Linked DNA regions of Homo sapiens: region 1 is linked to region 2. The links are contacts of gene promoters, found by promoter capture Hi-C in blood cells and fetal thymus (Javierre and others, 2016). All regions are on one chromosome and are shown on one strand. Each heading gives the region's core, a stretch centred on a gene start or on the middle of the fragment in contact. The rest is flanking DNA. Distances are from core to core; before and after follow the strand shown. Region 1 holds the start of NPC2 (NPC intracellular cholesterol transporter 2). Region 2 holds the start of NEK9 (NIMA related kinase 9).

What was found. The method cuts DNA at HindIII sites, captures the fragments that hold promoters and counts their contacts. A CHiCAGO score of 5 or more calls a contact.
Region 1: a contact is called between the fragment with the promoter of NPC2 here and the fragment with the promoter of NEK9 in region 2, in 4 of 17 cell types (naive CD8 T cells, total CD8 T cells, naive CD4 T cells and 1 more). The highest score is 7.3, in naive CD8 T cells.

The regions. Positions count from the first base shown.
Region 1 is chr14:74,488,866-74,494,692 of GRCh38, reverse strand. It overlaps NPC2 (NPC intracellular cholesterol transporter 2), which reads left to right and starts at 1,388. Exons shown (of 5, transcript NM_006432.5): 1 at 1,388-1,500. The coding sequence starts at 1,419. It overlaps ISCA2 (iron-sulfur cluster assembly 2), which reads right to left and starts at 928. Exons shown (of 4, transcript NM_194279.4): 1 at 848-928; 2 at 541-643; 3 at 303-418. The coding sequence starts at 918. RefSeq lists enhancers at 846-925, 5,704-5,827 and silencers at 1,126-1,405, 1,576-1,635. The HindIII fragment of the contact is 4,485 bases long and covers 1-3,828 here.
Region 2 is chr14:75,125,729-75,131,768 of GRCh38, reverse strand. NEK9 (NIMA related kinase 9) reads left to right here and starts at 4,721. Exons shown (of 22, transcript NM_033116.6): 1 at 4,721-5,066. The coding sequence starts at 4,848. It overlaps TMED10 (transmembrane p24 trafficking protein 10), which reads left to right. Exons shown (of 5, transcript NM_006827.6): 5 at 1-300. RefSeq lists enhancers at 4,668-4,797, 4,808-4,857. The HindIII fragment of the contact is 1,961 bases long and covers 3,624-5,584 here.

The DNA.
Region 1 (5,827 bases), core at 139-2,638, 630 kb after region 2:
TTCTTTGAGGCAAAATGATTCAATGGAATAAATACTGGGAAACGTGTAGGGACTTAAGCCTGGAATCTAGTCCGGCCTGACTTTCTACCGACTACCCAATGGACCTGGGCAGATCAATTTTGCTCCTATAACTTAGTTACTTTGATTCAGAACAACAAACCTTTACTGCATCCTCACTGTGAGACGGGCGGTGTTAACCATCCCAGGTAAACCCTTTAAATTTGGAATAAAAGTGCACCTTAAACTGGAGACACTTTTGTCCCTCCTGTACCTCCTTTGGGGGCCCACCCCTTCCTCCTTGCCTGTCGTCGGGGTTGATAACTGTATCCAGTGAAAATTTGTATTGGAATCCGGAGCATCCACCTCCCTCCACTTGCAGCCTGAGGAATTCTGACCCTTCGGTGATTTCCAAAAGCCTCTGAAATGCAGGAAGGGGGATCAAGAATAGCGGGAAACGGGAGTTAAAGGGCTGAGTGAAGAGCAGTTCCCGCTGCTCCCGCCAATCGCCTGGGTACCGCCGCTCCGCGTCCGGCCTCCTACCTGGACGCAACTGTCTGTGAGGCGGATCTGCCCTTCGCCGGCCTCGGGGCTGGAGGACGACGCCTCCCGACGCGCCTGGGGTCCCAGGGAGGCCGTGAGGAGCCTGCGCGCAAGGGAGGAGGGTGAGCCCGGGAGCAGAAGGGGCACCTTGCAACCCTCGACCTGGAGCGCCTCACGCTAAACCTGGCGACCCCCACCTGGACGGCCTCCCACCAAACCCTCGCATCCCCCACAGGCCTTAGTTTCCCATTTGTCCTAGAGGCGCAGAACCAAACACCCTTTCCAGGTGCCTTTCTAGTCTTGGTACCTGCCCCTCGGCCAGGGAGTGACCGCTCTCTGCGTCGCGGCCGTTAGGGACGACCCCCAGGCGGCAGCCATCTTCCTCCACAAGCTCCGCCCCTCGCGTCTCCCCCGTTTCTCACCCGGGGCCTCGGGAGGCGGAGAGAACGAACAGGAGGCCGGGACTTCACGGAGGCCCCGCCCCCCCAACATGCCTATTGGGTAGTGCGGGAGGAGAAGGTGTCTGATTGGCTAGGAATGCTCCAGACGGCAGCGGCGGGGACGCACCCAGGAAGCCGGAGAGGTGCTCTAAAGGGAAGGAACGGGGCGGGGAGGAGTGAGGCGGGGCGGGGCGGAGGTGGGTCCGGGCGGGTCAGGCCTCTGAGGGGATGGCATGGGCGGAGACTGCAGGCTTCTGGGCCTGAGAGGGCTGGAGCTGGCTTTCCGGAGCCGGGGGCGGGGCGCGGGCGGGCCTCAGCTGTGGTTACTGGTGACAGGTCGCCTGACTGGGCTCCTCCCCGGGCCCGCCCCGACAGGTTTGTCTTGTGACCGCGGGCGGCCGCTGCTTCTTTCCCGAGCTTGGAACTTCGTTATCCGCGATGCGTTTCCTGGCAGCTACATTCCTGCTCCTGGCGCTCAGCACCGCTGCCCAGGCCGAACCGGTGCAGTTCAAGGACTGCGGTGAGCCCCAGGCCCGCCCAAGGTTCCCGCGCCCTCTGTGGAAGGCCCCGCCGGACCCCCGCGCTGAGACCCCTGGGGCTGGGCTGGGCGGATCCCTCGGGCGGCCAGGCTGAGCCTTGGACCCTACCTAACTGGAATGGGCTGGGTCGGGGGAGAAGGCGCCGGCCTCCATGAAACCCGACCGCGCACAACTTTGTTTCTTTCCTTAGAACGCGTGTTTTGGGGTTCCTGGGAACTCCAGGAGGTGGGCCTTTTGCTGAAGTTTCCTAAAGTTTGTAGGGCGGACAACAGAAGGGCTGTATCCAGCTCTGGTGGAGGGGTGGAGCACAGAACTTCTTTTTATTTATGCTTTGTATCTTGGAATCCCGCCTCCCCCTTCCAACTCCTTTTGCTTTTCTTTTAATTTCGTTTTTGCTGACAAGTCAAAAGTCAATTCCCCTTTTTCATCATTTATTGTTACAAATAGGACTTCCTTTGGGCTTTGGAATCTTGTGATTCTTAATCAGTTTTTCCTTGTATAAATCTCATTGTGTCTCTAATCACAGCTTGTGATACATAACTCCCTCTCGCCGCTGTGGTTGGAATCTTTGTTGGAAAATACAACAGGTGGTAGAAATTCTGAGTGCCTTCATTGAGTCGAGTCTATAGAATTGTCGGAACAGAAACTCGAGCAATGTTGTTCAGAGGTGGAGATAGAGAGATAGAACTGTCAATGAAAGAGGCATGAAACTGACTTTGTAAGATCTATGAGTGGAAAGGAAGCACGGAGATCGTATAATCAATCATTGAATTCCAGGGATGTTGGGTAGCCTACCTAAAGTCACGCAGCAGAATGGGGAGCCAGAGTAAGTGTAACCGCCCAAGGGGTTCACCTTGCGCATTGCCTAGACAGAGCGGATTTATCAAGATGGGATTTGCAGTGGCGAAAAGAGTAATTCACGCAGAGCCGGCTGTGGGGGAGGCCGGAGTTTTATTGTTACTCAGATCAGTCTCCCCGAGCATTCGGGGATCAGAGTTTTTAAGGATAATTTGGCGGGTATGGGCTTGGAAAGTGGGGAGTGCTGATTGGTCAGGTTGAAGATAAAATCATAGGAGAGTCGAAGTGAGTTCTTCTTGCTGACCTCTGGGTGGTGTCATTTGCTGCATCGGAATGCAGGATCTGCAAAATATCTCAAGCACTGACCTTAGGTTTTACAATAGTGATATCATTACCAGGAGCAATTTGGGGAGGTTCAGACTCTTACAGCCAGAGGCGGCGTGGCCCCTAAACTCGTAGCTAATTTGTTAGTCCTACAAAGGCAGACCGGTCCCCAGGCAAGAAGGGGTTTTTCAGGAAAGGGCTATTATCCATTTCGTTTCAGAGTTTAAACTATAAATTCCTCTCCAAGACTAGTTCAGCCTACACCCAGGAATGAACAAAGACAGTTTAGAGGTTAGAAGGAAGATGGGTAGGTGAGTCCTGATCTCTTTCACTGTCTTAATTTCCTCAGGATTTTTGCAAAGGCGGTTTCATAAGTTTGCTGCTTTATATCCAGTGCCCAGGTAATAGTAACTGCTCAATGAAATGTGTTGAAAACATAGATGGAAATCTTTTTCCCCTATGTCATAAAAATTCATGTTGAGACAAAAGCAAAGTTGGGGATTAGGGGACAGGATTGATTAAGGAATGGAGTGCTGGCCGATTAACACTTAAATGCTATTCCATTGATTTAGGAGACTGGCACTTGAAAGCTATTATCGCTTCAAATTACTGCCTTTCCCTCCATTAAACTTAGTAGCCAGCGTTTGGATGAAGACACTATTAATTTTAATAACTCATTCCGGCCAGGCACAGTGGCTCACACCTGTAATCCCAGCACTTTGGGAGGCCAAGACGGGCAGATCACGAGGTCAAGAGATTGAGACCATCCTGGCCAACATGGTGAAACCCCATCTCTACTAAAAATACAAAAATTAGCTGGGCATGGTAGTGTGCACCTGTAGTCCCAGCTACTCGGGAGGCTGAGGCAGGAGAATCGCTTGAACCCGGGAGGTGGAGGTTACAGTGAGCCAAGATCACGCCACTGCACTCCAGCCTGGCGACAGAGCAAGACTCCGTCTCAAAAAAATAAAATAAAATAAAATAACTCATTCCATCCTCACAAGCTGTCTTACAGATGAGGAAAGCGAAGCACATAGAGTAACTTGCCCAAGATCTCACACCCAGTAAGTGGTAGGAAACCGTGGGTCTTTGTGAGCCACTTTGGGTTTCCAAAAAAAGAAGGGAAATAAATCCAGAAATTATTCTACTTATTTGAAAAAGCAGGAGTACACCTATGGGAAGAAGCTTTTAAAGGGAAGAAGGGTTTCAGTTACAGATTTATAATTTACTTTTGAATTGGGAAATATGATATAAAGACTTCAGTGCCCACATCAAAGATTTTTGTGTTCCACTCTACACCCACCTTCCCTGGCGTGGGATTTCCTCAAGTGAGAAAGTGGACCAAGCAAACTAATTTTGTAATGTTTGCTGGTTAGAACAGAGGAGTTTGTTCTATTGACACTGGAAGTCTAAGAACCTCTTGTCATCAGAAAACTGGATGAAAGAGCTATAAGTACTACCCTTTACTTACTTCCTACTAGATTATGTGACTCAGCCTTGAAAGAAGCAGGTGGAAGCTGGACATTGAAAGCCTTAACATTAGCACTGATTTTCAATAGATTGTTGATTGAAGTTCGGGATTTCTTTTTTCCCTATTCACCAAAAATGGGTTGGAGTGGAAGAGAGTGTTTCTCAAACTGTTTTGGATGCTTAAGAGTGTGTGCAGTTTAAGAACTTTGCAATGATGGAGAAGCAAGCTGAGGGATAAAGGACTGCAAGGTACTATTTACTGACCTAGCTGGAGCAGTGTTGGTCAGTGTGATGATAGTTAAAGAGACTGTTCCACCCAAGGGTAGGTACAGGCAGCAAAGAACATCTACTTAGATTTCTGAGTTCATATCATACTTTTATAGTACTGAGCTAATCTGGTGACTGACTGCATAGCAGATAATGTACTCTCAACCTGCAGTTTGCCTCTGTCTTCATGCATTCCACTTTTGAGACAGAAAGAGTCCATCCTATTGGCTAGAAACATAATTTCTATCCACAAAGTATATTTGAGGTGAGAGGTCCAGTTTTTGTGTCAGAAGGGAACTTGCTAACCTACCCAGGAGCAGCTATTCTAGATTAAACTCATGGACTAAATCCAGATATGATAATAATAGTAAATATATGTATCACTATGTTCCAAACACTTACCTAAGATCTGTATTTGTGTTAGCTCAGCTACACCATTATCTCCAGAGAGGTAAAGTATCTTGCCTTGAGGCTATACAGTAAGTAGCAGAGATAGTGAGATTTCAAACCCAGGCATCCGGCACCAGAGTCTGCCTCTCAGCAATGATGGCTGAATGGCAGAACTTAACTTACCCTGTTACAGGCACTGTTATCAGGCAGTTCACCTGCATTCTCTCCCATTCAACTGCCCAGTCTCTGGGGCAGGAGGAAATGGGATTTTTAAAGGCTTTATTTAAACCTTTTTTGGTCAAGCATTTATTGTATACAAGTACTTTTGTCCTTGGTTAGACTGAGATTAAAATACATACATACACACACAGACACACACACACACACTTATTTTAAGAACGCAGGTTCCCAAAATCGAGTATACATCTGTAGATTGCAGATGTGTGCTTAAAATCAGTTTTTGAAACTACTTAGAAACAACCTGGACAAGTCAGATGAATCCAATTTCTTTTCTTAAATTTTTTAATTTTGAAAAATATGTATTTGTTTTGAGGATTCCCAGGGATAAATCCTATTTCTGACTCTTTCTAGTACCTTCTTAGGTCTCATCCTTATGTTTTTAACATATGCAGTATTTGCAAGTGTATCATTCCCAGCAGCTATATAGACCTAGGCCAAGTTAATATTTCAGAGGAAATGAAACCCAGACTCAGGTAGCAGTATTCTTCTTTAATGCAGCTGGCACTTCTGCCATCTTGGCTGTGTGAGTCAGTGCTATTTGGAGTTAAGCTTAACTTGTGCCCTAAGCTTGTACTGAAACTATAAAGACCTTAACCTCTGTACTCCTCTTCATCCCCTTGATTCTTGGAAAAAATCCAGATCTTAACAACCTTAGTCAAGATTTAAGGTACTTCCTGTTGTTTTTGGAGCCAAAATATTTCATGACTCATAAGTGGGCCTTAAAGAACAGGACTAAATCATTGAAGAAACTGCAGAAGTGCAGTGAAAATGGTGCAGTTCCCAATTCAGAAGTGGGAGGTAGTTCCTCTCTTAAGGGTC
Region 2 (6,040 bases), core at 3,472-5,971:
TAAAAAGTAAATGTATTTGCCTTTGACAAAAGACTGACACAAGAGCAAATAAGCTTTAAAATCGGGTGTTATGTGCTTTCCTCCATTTTTGAGCATATTATCCAAAATGGTCTGTATAATATAAATGAGAATGATGCAGTTTAAGTAAGCCTTGTTATACCATTGTCATGGACCCCTGTCATAAAGCCATTTCTTGGTTTGTTTGGGAAAGAGGCATATGGGATTTATACAGATTCACTTGTAAATGTTGGATTGGGGATTTTTGTGTAAATTTTCTCAAATAAAGGCTAGCAGAAACCATTTTAGGTGTACTGTTACTCTTGAGTACTTCTATGTCTGGATTGGTGATAATTCTTCCATATTTCTCTTTTAAATTATGGCAAATTATACCTGATGAATTAGAGAAAAAATATTGTTATTCTTCAGTTACTGCAGATCGATAGTTTATATGAGCTAGTAAAAGATTATCATATTTTGTATGTAATATATGTAAATTATATATATATATATAATTAAGAATCCTTAATTATGCATCCTCAGACCAAATATGGTTCTGTAAGCTAGGCATTTTATTCTCTTTATCTTCTCTCTTTTGGAAACTGTTACTATTAGGTTCGCACAAAAGTAATTGTGGTTTTTGCAATTAAAATTGCAATTGCATAGAATCACTCCTACAGAGAGCCATCTCCCCTGCCTTTCATTCCTAAAAGACCCCCACCCCCCACCCCCGGTATATGAATCCTCAGGACTCACTTTTTAGGCCTATCATATCCAATGCAAAACCCCACTCCAGGAGGTAAACGTCTTTTCTCCTCTCCTTTCACTTACAGTTGAACATTTTTCACAAAGCGACTTTCCAAGAGCCAATATGAAGTGCTTTGCACACCCACTGGCTGGCCTCTTATTTATCCTCTTATCTCCATTCTCCCTCAAATAAATTTTATTATGAATCCATAGTGTGTAAAGTAGTGGTTCCCATTATTGGGGTATAATTTTTTTTTCTTTTCTTTTTTTTTTTTTTTGAGACGGAGTTCACTCTTGTTGCCCAGGCTGGAGTACAATGGCATGATCTCGGCTCACCACAACCTCCGCCTTCCGGGTTCAAGCAATTCTCCTGCCTCAGCCTCCCGAGTAGCTGGGATTACAGGCATGTACCAGCACGCCCAGCTAATTTTGTATTTTTAGTAGAGATGGAGTTTCATTATGTTGGCCAGGCTGGTCTTGAACTCCCAACCTCGTGATCCACCCACCTCAGCCTCCCAAAGTGCTGGGATTACAGGCGTGAGCCACCGTGCCCGGCCCAATACATGCTTTATAAATCATTTATTTAGTCTGCTGCAGTGGTGTCTCATAAAATGTTGAGCTGCATGTATAATTTTAAATTTTCTAGTATCACATTAAAGAAGTAAAAAACAGGTAAAATTTGCTGATTCTCCAGCCTCCCGAGTAGCTGGGATTACAGGCACATGCCACCACGCCCAGGTAATTTTTGTATTTTTAGTAGAGATGGGGTTTCACCATGTTGGCCAGGATGGTCTCGAACTCCTGACCTCGTGGTCTGCTCACCTTGGCCTCCCAAAGTGCTGGAATTATAGGCATCAGCCACTGTGCCCAGCCGAAAATTATTTTTAGTAGTGTATTTAACCTAATATACCCAAAATATTATTTCAACATATAGTTAATATAAAAATGGTTAATGAGATGTTTTGCATTCCATTTTTCATATAAAATCTTGAAAATCCAGTGTGCATTTCAAGCTATACCGCATCTATAGCTTAAAATTAGACTAGCCACAATTCAAGTGTTGAGTAGCTATATGTAGCTAATGGCTACCGTGGCAGACAGTGAAGGGTATAAACTTGGGTTGGTCTTTGGTAGATTCTTTCATCTTGACAGTAACTCTATGGCCCCTGGGAATTTGCCATTCACAAATTGGAAACTAATGCAAAATAGCATTCTAACCATTCACTTGTTAAAGTACAATGTGGAAATAGTTTGGTTTCAACCAAAGGCGCTTTAAAATTTTACACCTTGGCCAGGTGCAGTGGCTCACACCTGTAATCCCAACACTTTAGCAGGCCAATCACTTGAGGTCAGGAGTTCGAGAACCAGCCTGGCCAACATGGCAGAATGCCCTCTCTACTAAAAATACAAAAATTAGCTGGGCATGGTGGCGGACGCTTGTAATCCCAGCTACTCAGGAGACTGAGGCATGAGAATCACTTGAACTTGGGAGGTGGAGGCTGCAGTGTGCTGAGATCATGCCACTGCACTCCATCCTGAGTGACAGAGTGAGACTGTCTCCAAAAAAAAAAAAAAAGTTATACCATTAGAATAAATGTTGACTATTTTTGAACTTATAAATATTCAAAGGTAAGACAATTAGTTTCAGTTATATCCAATATAATGAAGAATTCAGCAGGAATGTCTCTGCTCTATAATAGGACATGTTTCTTCTAGGCTTGTAGTATCTATGCATTATCATTAGAACAATTCAGTTTCAGGCCAACCACGTTATAGAAAACTAGTTCCTCGTTGCAAAGGTGCCAGAAAAAAATGAATTTTTAAGCTTAGGCTGAAATCTATTCAGCCTCTTTGAAAGTCAGCATTCCCAATTTTAAGTAATTGGTTTTTTCCCATTCAACTGAGAAACAATTTATTGAGCATCTTTTCTGTTTAACAGAGTTAATCGAGAATAACAGAATTAAGTTAATAGAATTAACAGATTTAAGCCAAACTAAACTCTGGAGTTTATCTAGATAAACAAGAGGCAATACCTATCCTCAAAGTGCCTTCTAATTAATAGGAGGATGTAGATGGAATGGCCTCTACCTGAAATGATCTCTCTACTTTGTTTAGACTTAACATTTTGTATATTCCTGCACTCACACAGCAAGTTTGGCTTGGACAGATGCCACTCCTAAATGCCTCTCTAGAATCTTGCACTTTAATAGCCCTTATAGAAACTGTTTTAATTGCCTGGTGGTTTTCTGTTACATGTAAGCTCTCTTAAAGTAGGAACTTTTCACAAATCGATATGACACAATGTATTTTTATGTATTTGAGACAGGTTCTCACTCTGTTGCCCAGGCTCGAGTGCAGTGGCATGATCTTGGCTCACCGCAACCTCCGCCTCCCCAGTTCAAGCAATTCTTGTGCCTCAGCGTCCCAAGTAGCTGGGATTACAGGTGTGTGCACGCCTGGCTAATTTTTGTATTTTTAGTGGACACGGGGTTTCACCATGTTGGCCAGGCTGAACTCGAACTCCAGGCTTCAAGTGATCGGCCCTCCCAAAGTGCTGGGATTACAAGTGTGAGCCACCACGCCCGGCTAGGCACATGGCTTTCTCTTAGCCCCATCACATCCTGCTTTTTCAGATTGCTGGGTTCAACTTCCCAGCTCCCTCTTACTAGGTCTGTCACATTAAGCAGGTTACTTAGGTACCTCTGTTTCTGTAAAATGGGAATGTTAGGATAATACATAATACATAATACATAGGATAATACATAATAATGTGAGATAATACGTAAAAAACCTTTAGCATAGTACCCAGAACATAACACTCAATAAATGTTAGCTGTTATGTCTGTGATGTAGACCACATTCTCACAACAAAACAAGCTTGGAGATGAGAAGTTGCCCAAGGTCACATAATTGCCCAAGGTCACATAACTGATGGAACACCTATTGTTCACCGTATTGCTGTTTTCCTACTTGACGGTAGGGAGAACATTATTGCAGATTTCCTGTTCCCAAACAGTGTGTGGCACCAAGTGCTCAAAGAATGTTTCATGATATCATATGGTCAAATATCTGGAAAAACACATAGAATAAATTGAATCTGGAAAAAGAGACGGGGGAGAAGGAAAGTGTCAGGAGAGTTGACTTAAAATATTTTTGGAGTTGTGTAGAAGAGGGAGGGACTTAGGATGGCCCTGGGAGAAAGAACTCGGCCCAGGGACCGAGATGACCGGAGGCAGACATTTAGGCTGTCTATATTATTATTATTTTTTTTTTTTTTGAGACAAAGTCTCGCTCTGTTATCCAGGCTGGAGTGTAGTGCGCGATCTCGGCTCGCTGCAACCTCCTCCTTCCGGGTTCAAGTGATTCACCTGCCTCAGCCTCTGGAGTAGCTGGGATTACAGGTGCCTGCCACCACGCCTGGCTAATTTTTGTATTTTATAGAGACGGGGTTTCACCAGTTGGTCAGGCTGGTCTCAAACGCCTGACCTCAGGTGATCCGCCCGCCTCGGCTTCCTAACATGCTGAGATTACAGGCGTGAGCCACCTTGCCCGGCCATATTATCTTTACTATACTATCTCTCTAAAAAAGAATGCTGTCCAACGTTGGAATGGGGAAGAAGGTGTACACTGGGAATGCTTCCCCAATCACCCTCTTGTCACAGACCTGACGTCAAGATGAGACTGGACGACCTCTGGGCCTCCAAGTTGTATGAGTCCGGACCGGGGAGGCAGAGAAGGGTCAATAGACCCGAGAGGCCGTACCGTCAGTGATGCCCTTGTTCCCGTGGGAGCCCTTCGGTTCCACGCGGTTCCCACCACGCGCCCGCCAACCCTAGCCCGAGGCCTCACTTTGCAGGCCTTCCCCGAAAGCGGGAAGCCTTGGCCGCTAGACTAGCCAAGAGGGTAAGCAAAGGCGGAGGAAACTCAGCCAGGCCGGAAACACAGAGAACTGTTTCCGGGTCGGGGGGCAGGAGCCACCATCGAGCTTCGCGGGGTTGCTGGGCTGACGGATCCGCGGGCCGGCATCTGAAGCGAGCGGGACGCAGCGCGGCCAGGGCCTCCGGGCATACGCAGGCTGGTCCCCAAGGCCCGCGGCCGCCGCCATGTCGGTGCTGGGCGAGTACGAGCGACACTGCGATTCCATCAACTCGGACTTTGGGAGCGAGTCCGGGGGTTGCGGGGACTCGAGTCCGGGGCCTAGCGCCAGTCAGGGGCCGCGAGCCGGCGGCGGCGCGGCGGAGCAGGAGGAACTGCACTACATCCCCATCCGCGTCCTGGGCCGCGGCGCCTTCGGGGAAGCCACGCTGTACCGCCGCACCGAGGTAGCGGCCCTCGGCGCCGGCCGCCCTGTCTGGCGCTGTCGGGTCGCCCCGAGTCCCTCCTTCTCGGCCCCGCTTTCCCAGCGTCGTGAGCTTAGTGCTTTAGGCGCCCACGGGGTATATGTCTTAGGGTCTTCACCACTCTTCCCACTCACCGGCACTAGAAATTGGCTAGATCATTGGTTTGACTAGTCATTTTTGATTGTCCTAAGTCACCTAACCGTCTCTTGAGCTTTAGTTTCCCCATCTGTAAAATGGGCTTACTGATAATACCTTGAAATCATCTTTTTCTTTTTTTTTTAAGATTATCTTGAGAATCAAACGAAGGCTCTGTTCTGTAAATTAAAGTGGTATACGAATGTGAGGTATTGCCAAAACTTCCTTCCTCTCATGCTGTATATATAGTTCTCCAAGGTCGGGGTGAGGAGGAGGGGCATAGCTTCAAAATCCCCACACCCGTGGCAACTCCGTTATTTTTGTCATTATCTTTAAGTTCAGCAGTGATCACTCAGTTGGAAGCTTTTCTTGAAGCTCATTGGGAAGATCTTTGTGTGTTGGTTCTTTATCAGTGTTTATCTTGCAGGGTTTATGCATGGGAAATACTTTGTTGGTATATTCTAAGCCATTAGTTCTTAATTTGGGGGGCACAAGGACCCCTTTGATAACCTAAGCAAAGTAATCTTGCCCCCTCCATCAACACATTTGCACATATGCACATCCTTTGGAGAGATCCATGGATCACGGAATCCCAAGTTAATATATACTAGTGTAAAACCCTGCAGTGATTATTCTACTTCCAAAAACTAACGATACACTAGATTTGATCATAAAATCTTACTTTAGGGTAAACATTTAATGAGAACTTGCTGGGGTTGCTGAAGGTGATTCATCCGTCGGAAATCCATCTGCAGTTCTGGTGTGTGTTCCAAGCCAGCATACTTTTAAGGCTGAAAGATGGAGAAGGAGAGAAGTGGTTG